Regions from separate parts of the Homo sapiens genome. Here region 1 is linked to region 2. Evidence: promoter capture Hi-C in human tissues and cell types (Jung and others, 2019). All regions are on one chromosome and are shown on one strand. The core of a region is centred on a gene start or on the middle of the fragment in contact, and the rest is flanking DNA. Distances in the headings are between cores, read along the strand shown. Region 1 has its middle 12 kb from the start of OR1L8. Region 2 holds the start of OR1L1 (olfactory receptor family 1 subfamily L member 1).

Region 1 (3,084 bases), core at 90-2,589, 66 kb before region 2:
TCTTTTAGGGCAGGCCTGGTGGTGAGAAAACCTGTCATCATTTGCTTGTCTGTGAAGTATTTTATTTCTCCTTCACTTATGAAGCTTAGTTTGGCTGCATATGAAATTCTGGGTTGAAAATTATTTTCTTTAAGAATGTTGAATATTGGCCCCCACTCTCTTCTGGCTTGTAGAGTTTCTGCCGAGAGATCAGCTGTTAGTCTGATGGGCTTCTCTTTGAGGGTAACCCGACCTTTCTCTCTGGCTGCCCTTAACATTTTTTTCTTCATTTCCACTTTGGTGAATCTGACAATTATGTGTCTTGGAGTTGCTCTTCTCGAGGAGTATCTTTGTGGCGTTCTCTGTATTTCCTGAATCTGAATATTGGCCTGCCTTGCTAGATTGGGGAAGTTCTCCTGGATAATATCCTGCAGAGTGTTTTCCAACTTAGTTCCATTCTCCCTGTCACTTTCAGGTACACCAATCAGACGTAGATTTGGTCTTTTCACATAGTCCCATATTTCGTGGAGGCTTTGTTCATTTCTTTTTATTCTTTTTTCTCTAAACTTCCCTTCTCGCTTCATTTCATTCATTTCATCTTCCATCACTGATACCCTTTCTTCCAGTTGATCGCATTGGCTCCTGAGGCTTCTGCATTCTTCACGTAGTTTCGAGCCTTGGCTTTCAGCTCCATCAGCTCCTTTAAGCACTTCTCTGTATTGGTTATTCTAGTTATACATTCTTCTAAATTTTTTTCAAAGTTTTCAACTTCTTTGCCTTTGTTTTGAATTCCTCCTGTAGCTTGGAGTAGTTTGATCATCTAAAGCCTTCTTCTCTCAGCTCGTCAAAGTCATTCTCCATCCAGCTTTGTTCCATTGCTCGTAAGGAACTGCGTTCCTTGGAGGAGGAGAGGCACTCTGATTTTTAGAGTTTCCAGTTTTTCTGCTCTGTTTTTTCCCCATCTTTGTGGTTTTATCTACTTTTGGTCTTTGATGATGGTGATGTACAGATGGGTTTTTGGTGTGGATGTCCTTTCTGTTTGTTAGTTTTCCTTCTAACAGACAGGACCCTCAGCTGCAGGTCTGTTGGAGTACCCGGCTGTGTGAGGTGTCAGTCTGCCCCTGCTGGGGGGTGCCTCCCAGTTAGGCTGCTCGGGGGTCAGGGGTCAGGGACCCACTTGAGGAGGCAGTCTGCCCGTTCTCAGATCTCCAGCTGCGTGCTGGGAGAACCACTGCTCTCTTCAAAGCTGTCAGACAGGGACATTTAAGTCTGCAGAGGTTACTGCTGTCTTTTTCTTTGTCTGTGCCCTGCCCCCAGAGGTGGAGCCTACAGAGGCAGGCAGGCCTCCTTGAGCTGTGGTGGGCTCCACCCAGTTCGAGCTTCCCGGCTGCTTTGTTTACCTAATCAAGCCTGGGCAATGGCGGGCGCCCCTCCCCCAGCCTCGCTGCCGCCTTGCAGTTTGATCTCAGACTGCTGTGCTAGCAATCAGTGAGACTCCGTGGGTGTAGGACCCTCTGAGCCAGGTGGGGGATATAATCTCCTGGTGTGCCGTTTTTTAAGGCTGTCGGAAAAGCGCAGTATTCGGGTGGGAGTGACCCGATTTTCCAGGTGCCATCTGTCACCACTTTCTTTGACTAGGAAAGGGAACTCCCTGACGCCTTGTGCTTCCTGAGTGAGGCAATGCCTCGCCCTGCTTCGGCTCGCACACGGTGCGCGCACCCACTGACCTGCGCCCACTGTCTGGCACTCCCTAGTGAGATGAACCTGGTACCTCAGATGGAAATGCAGAAATCACCCATCTTCTGCCTTGCTCACACTGGGAGCTGTAGACCAGAGCTGTTCCTATTCTGCCATCTTGGCTCCTCCTTCTTCAGCACTCTTAACGTGTCATCCCAGTCCTTCCTGGCCTGCAAAGTTTCTGCTGAGAAGTCTGCTGCCAGACGTATTAGATCTTCCTTATATGTGATTTGCTTCTTTTCTCTCACTGTTTTCAGTATTCTCTCCTTGTCTTTACCCTTTGAGAGTTTGACTCTAATATGTCTTGGATTATCCTCATTTGTGTTTAATATGTTGGTGACATTTGGCCTTCCTGAACCTGGATATTTATGTGTTTCTCAGATTTGGAAAATTTTCTGTTATTATTTTTTAAAATAAGCTTTCTTCCCCTTTGCCTTCTCAGTTTCCTCTTTAACTTCAATAACCCAATTATTTGCTATTTTGATGTTGCCTCATAGATCCCATAATCTTTCTTCATTTTTTTCATTCTCTGTCTTTTTTGTCTTCTGACTGTGTATTTTAAAAGTTTGTCTTTCCAGCTCACTGATTCTTTCTGCTGCTTGATCAGTTCTTCTGTTGATGCTCTCTACTGCATTTTTTGTAATTATTATACTTTAAGCTCTAGGGTACATGTGCACAACATGCAGGTTTGTTACATATTTATACATGTGCCATGTTCGTGTGCTGCACCCATTAACTTGTCATTTACATTAGGTATATCTCCTAATGCTATCCCTCCCCCCCTACCCCCACCCCACAACAGGCCCCAGTGTGTGATGTTCCCCTTCCTGTGACCAAGTGTTCTCATTGTTCAATTCCCACCTATGAGTGAAAACATGCGGTGTTTGGTTTTTTGTCCTTGTGATAGTTTGCTGAGAATGATGGTTTCCAGCTTCATCCATGTCCCTACAAAGGACATGAACTCATCCTTTTTTATTGCTGCATAGTATTCCATGGTGTATATGTGCCACATTTTCTTAATCCAGTCTATCACTGATGGACACTTGGGTTGGTTCCAAGTCTTTGCTATTGTGAATAGTGCCGCAGTGAACATACATGTACATGTGTCTTTATAGCAGCATGATTTATAATCCTTTGGCTATATACCCAGTAATGGGATGGCTGGGTCAAATGGTATTTCTAGTTCTAGATCCTTGAGGAATTGCCACACTGTCTTCCACAATGGTTGAACTAGTCTACAGTCCCACCAACAGTGTAAAAGTATTCCTATTTCTCCACATCCTCTCCAGCACCTGTTGTTTCCTGACTTTTTAATGATTGCCATTCTAACTGGTGTGAGATGGTACCTCATTGTGGTTTTGATTTGCA
Region 2 (3,143 bases), core at 381-2,880:
TCTTAACCCTATTGCTTATTATATTTTAAAGTTCTAAGAACAGTGTCTAGCAAGGGACTGCTTCTAACACTGGGAGATGGGAAAGTGACTAGTGGCATAAGATGTTCTAGTTGTTTTAGCTTGATGATCAACGAATTCCGAGAAAACGTTCTCCAACCCCACATTCTGTCTTTCAATGTAAGCAGCACAGCGGTGAGGCTCAGGAAGTCTGTCACTTGAGCCAGCCTCACACAGGTGGGGTCTTTTTCACCAAAAGGAGTTAGGTCAGGAGGGTGATTTCTGAGAGAGAGAGAAGGCACTGACACTCCCCAGGCTCCTTGGGGAAGAAACTCCAAAACCGTAATAGTTCTTGGCTTGTTTTCTGCTGTCTTCTCCATCTGAACTCCAGGGACTTCTTGATGATCTCAAAGGATGCTCCCTTGACAGAGGGTGGGGTCTATGAGTGTCTTTAATCTCTTCAGCATGTGGGAGGCCCAGAGGAGGAAGAGAGGAAAATCTTCAGCTTCATGAGGGTTGAAAGCTTGTCTAGAATCAGGTGCCTTCTCTGTGTGGTTTTTTGGGGAAGCATATATATAACTGAGACTGGAATTGGGAAAAGAATTACACCAACACAGACAAGCATGCACTAACAATGACGATTTTAGCATTTAGGGGCTGGATAACAAAAATGAGGTTTATGTTACATTAAAAGAAATGTTGGCCGGGTGCGGTGACTAATGCCTGTAATCCCACCACTTTGGAAGGCCAAGGTGGGCGGATCACTTGAGATCAGGAGTTCGTGACCAGCCTGGCCAACATGGTGAAACCCCATCTCTACTAAAAATACAAAAATTAGCTGGGTGTGGTGGCACAAGCCTGTAATCCCAGCTACTCAGGAGGCTAAGGGGGGAGAATCGCTTGAACCCAGGAGGCAGAGGTTGCAGTGAGCTAAGATTGTGCCACTGCACTCCAGCCTGGGTGACAAAGCAAGACCTTGTCTCAAAAAAAAAAAAATAAGGAAAAGAAATGTTTTTACTATCCTGTTATTTCTGTCTATCTTTTGCCTCTTCATACCTATCCTTTCACTCAAATAAGGTTTCACTAAAAAATGAGGGAAATGGAGTAACTGTTGGGTAATCTCATATTTCAATGTCTTTTTACATGATTGCCAGCCTCCAGAATAACTGATGCAGACAGAAGTATCCGAACTAAGGGAAATCATTATTCCATCAGCTGGAAATTGAGAGATGAAACTTTTTTAAACCTGTCATAAACTAATTACTGAAAACCGTGAATACGATAAATATATACAGAAAAAGAAGAGAATAATTTCTCCAGGATTCCCCTCCTCTCCTTCTGGGAATTCTCTTGCACTCACTCCTTCCTCTTGCCCTATATCTCTTCTTTTCTCTTTTTCCCATTTCTGTTTCCCTGTAATTTGTTTCTTTATAGCAGGCAACTGAGATTAAAATATATATTAATTTCTAAATATCCCACATTAATGGAAAGAAACCACAATCCAGATAATTGTAATGTTTTAAATTTTTTCTTTGCTGATAAGAAGAATAAAAGGAGAAATTTTGGACAGATTGTATCAGATGTTGGAAGAATCTGTTACAGTGTTAGTTTATCTTTAGGTGAACCCACAACTATGGGAAGAAATAACCTAACAAGACCCTCTGAATTCATCCTCCTTGGACTCTCCTCTCGACCTGAGGATCAGAAGCCGCTCTTTGCTGTGTTCCTCCCCATCTACCTTATCACAGTGATAGGAAACCTGCTTATCATCCTGGCCATCCGCTCAGACACTCGTCTCCAGACGCCCATGTACTTCTTTCTAAGCATCCTGTCTTTTGTTGACATTTGCTATGTGACAGTCATTATCCCTAAGATGCTGGTGAACTTCTTATCAGAGACAAAGACCATCTCTTACAGTGAGTGTCTGACCCAGATGTACTTTTTCTTAGCCTTTGGAAACACAGACAGTTACCTGCTAGCAGCCATGGCCATTGACCGCTATGTGGCCATATGTAATCCCTTCCACTACATCACCATTATGAGTCACAGATGCTGTGTCCTGCTTCTGGTTCTCTCCTTCTGCATTCCACATTTTCACTCCCTCCTGCACATTCTTCTGACTAATCAGCTCATCTTCTGTGCCTCAAATGTCATCCATCACTTTTTCTGCGATGATCAACCAGTGCTAAAATTGTCCTGTTCCTCCCATTTTGTCAAAGAAATCACAGTAATGACAGAAGGCTTGGCTGTCATAATGACCCCGTTTTCATGCATCATCATCTCTTATTTAAGAATCCTCATCACTGTTCTGAAGATTCCTTCAGCTGCTGGAAAGCGTAAAGCATTTTCTACCTGTGGCTCTCATCTCACAGTGGTGACCCTGTTTTATGGAAGCATTAGCTATCTCTATTTTCAGCCCCTGTCCAACTATACTGTCAAGGATCAAATAGCAACAATTATCTACACCGTACTGACTCCTATGCTAAATCCATTTATCTATAGTCTGAGGAACAAAGACATGAAGCAGGGTTTGGCAAAGTTGATGCACAGGATGAAATGTCAGTAAAAGACCTAAGGTCTTAAGAGAATACCACAGATCTCTTGCCCTGGACTATAGGTTATTAATGGGTATGTGATTCTGAAATGATTATTAGATTCTGAAAGGATAGTACCTTCAATGATGGTGTTTCATTCCTTACAGAAGAATGTTTATTGCATGTATTGAAGCTACTCCTGAATATAATGCCTACAAACTAAGTTGGATCACTGTAATCTCCTGAGTATCCCTATTCATGCAGCTGGGTTTTCTTGTATAGTAATGTAAAGCTGCTTGAATGTCTTTGAGCTACTCTGTGTGTGTGTGCGTGCGTGTGTGCATGTGTGTGTGTATGTGTGTGTGTGTCGCTTCATCATATTAGCCCAGGGGCTCCTCAATAACGAGGTCTCTCTCTTTCTCCCATTATAAATGTCAGAACTGTGACTCCTTCCTCTGCATTTCCTCAAAGATTAAAGCCTGGCTTCTATAGTTGTCATAGTCTCAACAAATAAAATCATCCCACTAGATAACTCTTAGTGAATCAGTGCCAGGTCAGGTTCCTAAGAGTATGGCATCTCAGTATTCTTCCTGCTTCCCACCTGGCAAAGCT

The links. Contacts are between HindIII fragments. The study calls those that stand out against the background at their distance.
Region 1: a contact is called between a fragment that was not itself captured here and the fragment with the promoter of OR1L1 in region 2, in 2 of the 25 tissues and cell types used here (heart right ventricle and mesendoderm cells).

Annotation. Positions count from the first base shown.
Region 1 is chr9:122,594,323-122,597,406 of GRCh38, forward strand. No RefSeq gene overlaps it. Among named protein-coding and RNA genes, the nearest start is that of OR1L8, 12 kb to the left of the region's middle. The HindIII fragment of the contact is 4,400 bases long and covers 1-3,084 here.
Region 2 is chr9:122,660,086-122,663,228 of GRCh38, forward strand. It overlaps OR1L1 (olfactory receptor family 1 subfamily L member 1), which reads left to right and starts at 1,631. Exons shown (of 1, transcript NM_001005236.3): 1 at 1,631-2,563. The coding sequence starts at 1,631. The coding sequence ends at 2,563. The HindIII fragment of the contact is 8,013 bases long and covers 1-3,143 here.